Linked DNA regions of Homo sapiens: regions 1, 3 and 4 are each linked to region 2. Evidence: promoter capture Hi-C in 16 types of primary human blood cells and fetal thymus (Javierre and others, 2016). All regions are on one chromosome and are shown on one strand. The core of a region is centred on a gene start or on the middle of the fragment in contact, and the rest is flanking DNA. Distances in the headings are between cores, read along the strand shown. Region 1 overlaps ADD3 (adducin 3). Region 2 holds the start of MXI1 (MAX interactor 1, dimerization protein). Region 3 has its middle 81 kb from the start of DUSP5-DT. Region 4 overlaps ADD3-AS1 (ADD3 antisense RNA 1).

What was found. The method cuts DNA at HindIII sites, captures the fragments that hold promoters and counts their contacts. A CHiCAGO score of 5 or more calls a contact.
Region 1: a fragment that was not itself captured here is called in contact with the fragment with the promoter of MXI1 in region 2 in 2 of 17 cell types (naive CD8 T cells and activated CD4 T cells); the score reaches 7.0 in naive CD8 T cells.
Region 3: a contact is called between a fragment that was not itself captured here and the fragment with the promoter of MXI1 in region 2, in 2 of 17 cell types (naive B cells and fetal thymus). The highest score is 5.5, in naive B cells.
Region 4: a contact is called between a fragment that was not itself captured here and the fragment with the promoter of MXI1 in region 2, in 8 of 17 cell types (naive B cells, total CD4 T cells, erythroblasts and 5 more). The highest score is 8.0, in naive B cells.

The regions. Positions count from the first base shown.
Region 1 is chr10:110,023,860-110,026,669 of GRCh38, reverse strand. The region is part of intron 1 of ADD3 (adducin 3); the gene reads right to left. Among named protein-coding and RNA genes, the nearest start is that of ADD3-AS1, 17 kb to the right of the region's middle. The HindIII fragment of the contact is 8,514 bases long and covers 1-2,810 here.
Region 2 is chr10:110,206,143-110,208,964 of GRCh38, reverse strand. MXI1 (MAX interactor 1, dimerization protein) reads right to left here and starts at 1,360. Exons shown (of 6, transcript NM_130439.3): 1 at 883-1,360. The coding sequence starts at 1,156. RefSeq lists a silencer at 1,110-1,189 and an enhancer at 2,779-2,822. The HindIII fragment of the contact is 6,685 bases long and covers 1-2,822 here.
Region 3 is chr10:110,414,006-110,416,705 of GRCh38, reverse strand. No RefSeq gene overlaps it. Among named protein-coding and RNA genes, the nearest start is that of DUSP5-DT, 81 kb to the left of the region's middle. RefSeq lists enhancers at 1,959-2,088, 1,263-2,462. The HindIII fragment of the contact is 1,542 bases long and covers 492-2,033 here.
Region 4 is chr10:109,986,138-109,988,837 of GRCh38, reverse strand. All of the region lies in intron 2 of ADD3-AS1 (ADD3 antisense RNA 1), which reads left to right. Among named protein-coding and RNA genes, the nearest start is that of ADD3, 20 kb to the left of the region's middle. RefSeq lists an enhancer at 992-1,493. The HindIII fragment of the contact is 9,885 bases long and covers 1-2,700 here.

The DNA.
Region 1 (2,810 bases), core at 77-2,576, 180 kb after region 2:
TTAAACCAATGTAAAACATTAAATCCAAAAATTCTCAAGTACCTTGACCTTGTACCTGGGTCCTATTAAAACTGACTTAAAAGTACAATCAGCCGGGTGTGGTGGCTCACGTCTGTAATCCCAGCACTTTGGGAGGCCGAGGTGGGCGGATCACCTGAGGTCGGGAGTTCAAGACCAGCCTGACCAACATGGAGACACCCCATCTCTACTAAAAATACAAAATTAGCCAGGCGTGGTGGCACGTGCCTGTAATCCCAGCTACTCAGGAGGCTGAGGCAGGAGAATTGCTTGAACCGGGAGGCTGAGGTTGCAGTGAGCCGAGATCACGCCACTGCACTCTAGCCTGGGCAACAAGAGTGAAACTCCGTTTCAAAAAAAAAAAAAAAACAAGAAAACTGGGGTCATAAGTTCTATAATCTATTTCACTCAAATGACCTAAAACTATTCCTTTTCATTGGAGGGGTGGAACTGTTTCTCATTTAAATACATTCCTTTCCAAAAGAAAAAGGAATGTCAAGGCAGCCAAATACATCCATTCTGAATTTTCTATATAATGTTCCTAAACATGTCAGAAACATTTACCATGTACATGACTTGCTTCAGTGGTGAGCACACTAAAATTGGAACAATATACATAATATCAGTGTGGCTTCTATTAAGAAAACAAGAAAGATCCTGACACATTACAGATTTTGGAAAAAACTTCACAAAACTTTCCCAAATTCGATGAAATTTTTTTTTTCTTTTTTAAGGAAAAGGGAAAAACAGATATCTTGAAAAGAAGCCTCAAATCTGAGAGATTGGGGTCTCTCATCCTGTCCAAACCCTGCTCTAGGGAAGGTCAGGTGGAATTCTGACAAAACCCCTTACCCCAGAATTGCATGAATGGAGTTAAGATGGCTCGTAATGTAATGAAGTGAAAAAAGCACTGGACAGAGGCAGGAATCTCAGTTTTGAGTCTAGATCTGCCACAAGCAACATGTTGCCTTAAACACGGAACTTCCTTTAATCAGACTGGGTTCTTCACTCTTAAAATGAAGTAAGGTTTCCACAATTCTATGAATCTAGATTTTATCACCCTCTCTATTTCTATTTGCTTCTCCTTTAAAGTATACAGAGAATTCCTACGTCTACTCATATAACAGAAAGTCTGATTTTACACAAAGGCATAATTTTAGCATCTGAAGAAACTTGCAAGCCTAGAGACCCCTTACTTCTATTAACTAGGGGACTTGCTTTTAATTGAACCATGGAGGCAGAAGTTGGCTACCACCACTCTGAAGATTCCCATCTCTCCCACAAATATCGAACTAAAATTAAAAAAATATTAAATTAAATTAGTATTATTAAATTTAAAAAGTATTATTTATACTATAGTATGAGTGAAAGATTATTATAGCTACCACCTCCCACTTTCTATACCTCTGCCTTAGTGGAACGGACGCTAGGAAAGGAAACGTTTTAATAAAATGACAGCCAGGTGCGGTGGCTCACACCTGTAATCCCAGCACTTTGGGAGGCCGAGGTGGGTGGATCACTTGAGGCCAGGAGTTTAAGAGCAGCCTGGCCAACATGGCAAAACCCCGACGCTATTAAAAATACAAAAAAATTAGCCAGGCATGGTGGCGCACGCCTGTAACTCCAGCTATTCAGGAGGCTGAGGCACAAGAACCCACTTGAACCCAATGCACTCCTGCCTGGGTGATGGAGTGAGACTCTGTCTCCAAAAAAAAAAAAAAGAAAAGAGGAGGAAACTTGAGTGGTTTGGGGGTGACAACTTACTTTTCACTGTATACGCTTTTGTGCCTTATTTTGTTCCATGTCCTTATATTTCTTACTCAAAATTTCAAGTATTTAAAAAATAAATGGATTTTATAAAAATTTGATTCAAATAGTAAGTTTAACTTTGAAACCAATAAAATCATTCTTGCTTTTAAAAAACTGAGTGCTTTTCACTGATTTTCATTTTACTAAGAATTACTTTTGAGTAAGTTATTTTAAACATCTAACACTTAAAAATTTTAAGCATGAAAATTTTACATTGAAATAATCTAGAAGTTAGTTCTGTCAAATTCAGTGTTTTCTCCCACCCATTTATAAAATCACTATGTCCCAATATAAAGCCCTGTGTTAAATATCTTATTACAAGGAGCTACAAACAAAAATGGTCAACTGTGCATGCAACAAAGCTACTAGAGGAGCCAAATCATCTTGTTTCACCATTCAAATGTGCAAAAAGTCTTACTGGATTGGATTCTCCACTAAATTCACATAGCAAAAATAATTCTGCATGTGATTTTTTTTGGCAATAATTTATTATAGGTGCTTACGCTATGTTTACTTTTGAAGTTTCAAGATAAACCACCATATGTTATTAAGGGGAAACCAAGATGGCACAATGACTTCCTGTAATGACAACATGCAATACCTGATATTGCAAAGCCCAATGCCTTCAATTCTTTTGTTATTCCATTGCACAAAAGTTCTGTTTATAATTTCAACTTTTATTTTAGATTCAGGGTGTACCTCTGCAGGCTTATTACACGGGTATATTGTGTGATGCTGAGGTTTGGGGTACAATTGATCCTATCACCCAGGAAGTAAGCATTGTGCTGGACAGTTTTTCAGCCCTTATCCCCTCCCTCTCTTCTGCCTCTAGTAGTCCCCAGTGTCGACTGTTCTGTCTTTATGTCCACGTGTACCCAATGTTTACCTCCCACTTTAAGTGAGAACATGTGGTATTTGGTTTTCTGTTCCTGTGTTAATTTGCTTGGGATAATGCAATGCACAAAAGTTTAAAATTAAATGCA
Region 2 (2,822 bases), core at 111-2,610:
CCTTGCTTGCCCTGTGCGCTCACTCAAGAGCCGTCTCCCGGAAAATAAAGAAAAAGCACAGAACAGCCCACACCTTCTTCCCCAACTATTGTTTCTCAAAGATCCCAAAGTTTCCTTCTAGCCGCGTCCCCACGGCCAAGTTTCCCGGGCTCAGGACGGCGTGTCCGGGGCGAGCTGCTGGCGTTGCTTGGCCCCGCCGGCCTCCTTCTTTGGGGGGGGGGGGGCGGCGGTGGCACCCCACGGCAACGGACGTGCAGGGGGACTGTGTCCGTAGACGTGATGGCCTGAGCCCAGTCCTGCTGCTAGAGGGAAGGAAAAAGGCGAAGTAGGAGGGAGAGAGAGAGACAGAGCCGAGCCCACGCCGTGGAGAGCTGTTTGGTTGTTATTGTTGTAGTGTGTGTCTGTGTGTTTTCTTTCTGGAACCTCTGAGCTCTGCCTATGGTTTCCAACTTTCGGCTTCTAATCCCCACCCCACCCAGGAACGAGCAACAGAAAAACAACACTTGTCTGCCTGAGAAGGCTCCGGAAAAAAAAAAAAAAAAAAGGAAGAAAAGCGACCTCAAAGAGATGAGCTCTCGGCTCAGTTGTCAGCAAACAACAACACTCCCCCGCTCCTCCGCTGGGCCATCCTCCCAGCCCCAGCCCGCCGGAGAGGACAGACCGACGCACCGACAGGCCCCTCTCCCCCTCGCCCGTCTTTGTTACATCTTTAGCAGCTTTGTGCGTGCGTGTCCTTTCTCCGGTGTCATCGGCTTTACTGCCAAGGGCTGGATGTGTATGTTGGGCGGGGGGGGGACGGGCCGAGCTCGCAACAGGGGTCGCCCAAGTGGGCGAGAAAGAAAGAACCGGGCGCCGAGGAAGAGCAGGGGCCCCCAAACTTACTTTTGTTTTCTTTCTCGATCTGCTCCAGGTAGCTGGCGGCCTCGAGCAGAATCTGCACGTTCTGCAGAAAAGTGTTGATGTGCTTCTCCATCGAGTTCTCGCTGGTGTTGAAAATGTCTGAGAAGGGGCACCTGGGCTTGGCCCCAGCGGGGTCCTCGGGCAGGGCCGGGGGCTGGGGCGCGGCCACGGCGGGGGGCACAGCCGGGGGCGCGGCGGGGGCCAGCCCCGCGCCCTCGCAGCGCGCCTCCTTGCGCGGCCGCCCGCGTTTGCCCATGGAGGAGCGGGGGTCCGCCGAGCTCGTCCTCTAACGGGGCTGCGCGGCCCGGCCGAGCTCCGGGCCCCCAGGGAGACCCGGCCGGCTGGAGCAGAGAAGGCGCCGGGGCGAAAAGCCGGCCTGACTTCCCGAGCCTCGCTGCCTGCAGTTGTGTGTGTGAGTGTATGGGAGTGTGTGTCGGTCTCGCTGTGAGTCTGTGTGTATGGGAGATTGAATGAACCTACAGGACAGACGGAGGCACTCTGGCGCCTGGGTCCTAGTGCGAGCCTGTCGCCATCGGACCGGTCAAAATAAAAGGTGGAGACTAGCGAGCGAGGCAGGGACCGCCCCTGCCCGTCCCCGCAGGCTTCCCTGCCTCTCCCCAAGGCTTACCACAGAGTAGAACACTGTCTTTTAACCGGAATGGAAAAAAATACCTGATGTCTCTGGGTGCACCTGCATAAAAACAAACTACTTTTTTCACAGAAAAATAATGCCTCAGAAAGTGTCCAGCACAATGCCTGGCACATAGTTAGGTCCCCATACATGGTGGCTGCTATGACTTAAAAATAAATAAATAAAAGCTCCCCAATCCAAATGGGAAGAAGGGAACCAGTGTGTAACCAGAAGATCCCCCCACCCCCAACACAAACACTCCTACTCACAGACACACATACATACGTAATCACGCACACACTTGCGAGGCACCTGTGTGTGCCTTCACACAGTCAAATGAAATCCCAGGCCGTCCAAATCCGAGTTACAGATTTACTCATGCCTTTCTCCCTTCAAATGCAAAGTTATTTTCCAGAAGTGGGAGGAGATGTCAGCATCCCTCTCCACACTCCTCTGCCCAGCCTTGGTTCAGCTGTGCAAAGCTCACACCAGGATGCCTCCACACCTGGCTCCCTTTAATTTGAGAGGCAGAAGTGGCAGCTCAGGAACCACCCCCCTCCCCAGCTGAATTCCACCTTTTGCCTCTGAAAACCCCTACCCCAGCTGACATTGTTTCACTGCCACTGCTGTCCGCAATCATGGATGCTTTCCAGCCCTGGGAAGTACTGGAGGTGTCAGGGGATGATTGAAGGCTGCTCTAGGGTGCCATAGGAAAGGGTTCAAATCCCAGCTCTGCTGCATACAGACTGTGTGAGCTTGGACAAGTCCCTTAACCTCTCTTGGCCTAAGTTTCCACATCATTGAAATGTGTGATAAGATGCTTGTGTATTGTATCTGACTTAGCACACTCTGGCCCATGGTAAGCTCTTTTTCTTCCAATCCAGACCCAGGCAAGAGCCTGAGTCCCCTATTCTGATGTAACTTGTATCTAAGAAAGGAACAAGATGTAGTGAACAAGACTCTTCTGCACTTCCTTGGAAAATATCTCTATGACAAGCCCATCTAAATATGGTTACTTTGCAAGGTCACCTGGAGTTTTCCTCCAGGGGAACCATTTATATAGAGGACAAAGACAATGCTGCCCCCTGGAGGTGTGCGATGCAGCCACCCTACTCAAAGGCAGCTTCATACACATTGTCATAAAAACTCTTGATGGCCGGACGCAGTGGCTCACGCCTGTAATCCCAGCACTTTGGGAGGCCAAAGCGGGCAGATCACCTGAGGTTGGGAGTTCGCGACCAGCCTGACCAACATAGAGAAACGCTGTCTCTACCAAAAATACAAAATTAGC
Region 3 (2,700 bases), core at 13-2,512, 210 kb before region 2:
TATTTTATTTATTTTTACTTATTTATTTTAAGACAGGGTCTCACTCTATTGCCTAGGCTGGAGTGCAGTGGCATGGATCATGGTTCACTACAGCCTCAAGCTCCTAGGCTCAAGTGATCCTCCCACCTCAGCCTTCTGAGTAGGTGAGACAATAAGTGTATGCCACCACACCCAGCTAATTTTTAATTTTTTTGTAGAGATGGGGGTCTCCCTATGTTGCCCAGGCTGGTCCTGGGCTCAAGCCATCCTCCCTCTTTGGCCTCCCAAAGTGCTGGGATTACAGGTGTGAGCCACTGTGCCTGGCCCAAAATGTATTTTAAACTACTTGAATATTTGTAATAAGCAGCACCATGCACATTTAGAAGTGATACGTGATTTTCACACACTGGAGCTCACCTCAGTTGTGTTCACACTGATTTCATAAGTAACACAGTAACATGTTGGAAACTTGAACTTCTTAGAAAATATATTTAAACTAGTGGAGTGAAGCTTTTATTGTTCACATACACTGGGGCCCTGTGTCGGGTCAAATCTTATTTGGAAAAAGGGTTCTGTTTAAAAAGATCTCACAGGCATTGGGCTTCGTCACCAGGAAGAGAGATAAGGAGAAGTGATATGACCAGTGTTTCTGGTGAGTGACTTCTGTGTCCCACAACTGTGTTGGAAGATTTTCTCAGCAGACTGCAGAACATCTTATCTGAGCTCTGGTCTGAGCAGTGCCACTGATTGGCAGACATTTGCAAGTTGGTTCTGGAAGTCACTGGTAGCTGACAGCTCCAGGCCAATCTGAAAGAGGTAGGGCCCGTTTCTGCACCAGGGCAGAAGAGTGAAGCCTTTCAGGAGCTGCCTGGGGATAAGAAACAAATACTAAGAACTCAAATCACAAGTTGCCTAGCTCCAATGTGCCAGGCGACGGGCTGCACCTCTCACCCATGCAAATACATTTGTCCCTCACATGTACATAAGGAGGTTTAGCCTCATTTTATAGGTGAGGAAAGTGGTACACAGATAGTTTGACACCCCCCAAATTCCCTAGCTAGTGAGTGACAGTGCTGGGAGCAAACCCCCAAGTCTGGGATGGGGATCAGAAACTCACAGTTTTAATGAGCACCCCAGGGGATTCAGGTAATTCTGATGCAGGTGGTCCACACACCCTTCTCCGAGAAATACTCTACTACATTATACTGGGTGCAGGGGCTGGATACAGACTGAAGTAGAAATAGTTCTGACCAACAGTGGCCTTGTCATCAGCACCTGCTTTTTACCAACCTTTTACCTAACAGGTGGCTCTGCCTGAACAAGGTCTTAGAGGGGTCTCTGGACATCTGATACAGGCAAGCATCTGCCCCTTTCTTTGCTTCCATTTTCACCTCAATAGAGCAAGGGATGACATCTTGGTGCCCTTCCTGCTCTCAATCCTGTGAATCCATTACCAGCCTCTGTGACCTGAGTACCAGACCAGGAGCTCCAAGGTTGGGTCTCAGAGTGGTAAAGGGTCTTGCTTGAGTCAAACAGTTAGTAAGTAGTAAAGCCTCCTTTAGTCAGGCTGCTGGGGTCCAGATCTCCACCATCTTAACTCCCAAGCAGTGGTGTCCCCAAGGACGGGGCCATAGGAATGGTGCACATGGGTACAATAAGAGGTCATATCATCTACAGAAAAATTACAAACAATAATAAACTGACTAACAGTGATGCACCAGCAATTCTAATCAACGTCAGTGATAAACTACTTCTGTCCCCGCCACACCCCCACTAGCTTGGTATGCCACCCACTGCCACCCTCTGCCGCATTCTCTCCTGGGGTTATGTGAGTCACTGCTGTGCAGTGAGGCTTCTCAGAGGAAGGAGAGGAAGAGACCTTGTTAGGGGTGGGGGTGAGGTCTCTTCAATGTGGTCCCCATCCGGCCACACCATCTGTGACAAAGACACCCAAGAGAATGTGGTCTGGGTGACTACAGGGCTCATTTACCTCAGGCTAAAAATAGGTGCATTCCCCGCAGCAGGTGGGTGACTCAGCAGGCCTGAGGAAAGCTTCTAGATGGAGGAAGCGCAGTCTTGCCAGCCCAGGTTTCCCCCCGGTACCAGAACAACAGGAAGGGGCTGATGACGGAATTGTAGCATGCATTTCACAACCCCTTCTGCGCCTCCCAACTTTCCCCTGCTGCCGTTCCCCAAACTCCCTGTTCAAAAATTGCTGTTCAAATTCCTGAAATTGCTAGTCCAATTGAGAGCCCAAATGAGACCATGTGGCCAACTGCTCAAACTTATGGTAGCTTTCTTCCAGACCTTAAAGAGAGAGGCGAGAGAAGGTGCATGCATGTATGTGTGTGTGCACACGTGTGTGAGAGCAGGTACATGAGAAGCAGGCCACAGAGCGTCTATACTGGAGTCTGCCTTTGTCTCTGACCTCCCAACCTGGCCGCTGGCCACATACAGTGGAACCCAAGGAGGACTGCTGATGCTCTCTGATCATTTTCTGCAATGCGTTATGCCCTGGGAAATGAAAAGTGCTCCCTTCTTTCCATCCCCAGACTTTTCAGGAAGCAAGCACAGTCCTGACCTTCTAGATATATCTCCAGAGGCTCAACAGAAGCTGAGGAGTGAGGCAATTATTTGAAGAATTCAACCCCACTTCAGGCAGCTGTCTGAGCAGATTGATGCAACGGGAAGAGGCAAGACTGAGCGCCAGGACCTAGTTTC
Region 4 (2,700 bases), core at 159-2,658, 220 kb after region 2:
CATATTGTTTAATCCTTGAACAACTCTGAGATAGAATTTATATCCATTTTACAGCTTTAACGTGTGTACTTTTTTTGTATCTGGCTTCTTTCACTCATGTTTATAAGTGAAATGGAATGTCCTTGCCCATGGTTATAGATTGTTGCCACCTAAGTTTTAAGCAAGGGAGTAGTGTGGGCTGACCTCTGGGTTAGAAAAGCTACTTTAGCAGCTTCGAGGAGGGTAGAATAGAAAGACAAGAAGACCCATGGAAGGAGCTAGGGAAATAATCCACACAAGAGATGATGAGGACTGACCCAGAGCCCAAGCAGTGGGGGTAGAGAAGGGGTGGAAAGATCAGAGCTCTGGAGAAGCAATTCAAAACATGTGTTCCATTTACAGTGTCCTTCAAACACAGAGGAGAACACTCAGCTGAATGCTCAGAACCCAAGCAACATTAATTGACCACAGCATTAGTTTGGGTGCTTTTCAAGATTTAAATGAAACAAGCTACATCTCTCTGAGAGTCTATTGTCATAGATGACCGGGATGAGACAGAAGAAGCTAACACAATGTGGATGAATGACAGGGTCCCTTGAGACTTTAATGACCTCAAGTGATGTTGGAAGAGTTTTGTAGCTGATTTCTTTTTCTTACATATATTTTGAGTAGCAGAGTGTCAACATAAAATTTAGATTGGTAAGGAAAACAACACCAGGATTGAAGAGAAAACAGGGGTAGGTAAGAGTTTTAGCAGAAAGTTGAGAGGGATGAGGCTGTGAGTGGGTGTGTAGTACAGACAGAGGGGAGATGGCTGGTGAAGCATGAAGTGAGAACTCATTCTGCATCTATCTTAATCTCACGCTTCTCAAACTTGGGTGTATATATCTCTGAAAGCATGTCAGGAGGAACTAGAGCCACCCAATAAATATAGTACATTTTCTTGGAATGTTCATTTTATGCTAGGACTGAGGAGAAAGATTCCATTTATTTGGAAACAAACAATGTGTTATGGAGTAGAATGCAAACTTCATGTGAAGTTTTAAGTTAAAACATAAGACTTTAAGTATATTTCTAGCAAATGCTTTTTTGGCCTTCAGCCCCAATGCCTCCCTTGTGATTAGGTAAAATCCAGAAGAAAAGTTTTGCAAAATCTCATCTCCGTCACTTTTGACTCCATGCTCCACTCTATGCTGCTAGGACCTACACTGAGCTCTTTTCCAGACTGTGGTGTTACTCATTCAGCAACATTCCTTCCTTTCTTTACTCACTCATTCCAAACATGTTAAGTAAGGGCCTGCCCTATTGTAGGACCTGGGAGATAGTTTTCTCCTGTACAATACTGTAAGTTCCAGAAAGGACTGTGCCTTAAAAGAAAACATTTAGAATCCCTACAGCGTTTGTCAAAACTTGCACATATTAAATGTTTTATAAATATTTGTTGACATAAAATGAAATGGGATATTTGCCAAATCTTTGCAAAAACTCAGAGAGGAATTAGGAGAGGGACAATAAAGAGGAGAGAAAGGTATGAATATATGTGAACTGCTAACCATTTTGAACTAAACATATTGTTTAATCCTTGAACAACTCTGAGATATAATCTATATCCATTTTACAGCCAAGGAAACTGAGGCTGAGAAAGAATAAAGTAACATGTTTGAAGCAACACAGCTAGTATCAGAGTACAGATTCAATCCCAGCTTTGTCTGGTACTAAGGTCCATGGAGGATATCTATAAAAATGTAAAATGCATGTGTCTTTTGACCCAGTAACTCTAGGAATTTATCGTCTAAATACAATCAAATAAGTGCTTAAAGATACAAACACAAGGATGCTCATTTTGGTGCTAATTGCTAATTGTACCACCACACCCAGCTAATTTTTGTGTTTTTAGTAGTGAAGAGGTTTCACCATGTCGACCAGCCTGGTCTCGAATGCCTGATCTCAAGTGATCCACCCAACTTGGCCTCCCAAAGTGCTGGGATTACAGGGGCGAGCCACCACTCCCAGCCAAAGTCAACTTAAACATAAGTATATATTACTTTTATAATAAAAAGCAAACAAGTTAATAAAATTAAATGAAAATAAAGCCTGCACTTAGATTTAAGTCCTTGATCTATCTTGAGTTGATTTTTATATAAGGTAAGAGATGAGGATCCAGTTTCATTCTCCTACAGGTGGCTTGCCAATTATCCAAGCACCATTTGTTGAATAGTGTGTCCTTTCCCCACTTTATGTTTTTGTTTGCTTTGTCAAAGATCAGTTAGCTGTAGGTATTTGGCTTTATTTCTTGGTTCTCTATTCTGTTCCATTGGTCTATGTGCCTATTTTTATACCAGTACTATGCTGTTTTGGTGACTGTGGCCTTATCGTATAGTTTGAAATCAGGTAATGTGATGCCTCTAGATTTGTTCTTTTTCCTTAGTCTTGCTTTGGCTATGCAGGCTCTTTTTTAGTTCCACATGAATTTTAAGATTTTTTTTCTAGTTCTGTGAAGAATGATAGTGGTATTTTGATGAGAATTGCATTGAATTTGTAGATTGCTTTTGGCAGTATGGTCATTATCACAATATTTATTTTACCCATCCATAAGCATGAGATGTTGATCCATTTGTTTGTGTCATCTATGATTTCTTTTAGCAGTATTTTGTAGTTTTCCTTGTATAGGCCTTTCACCTCCTTGGTTAGGTATATTCCTAAGTATTTAATTTTTTTGCA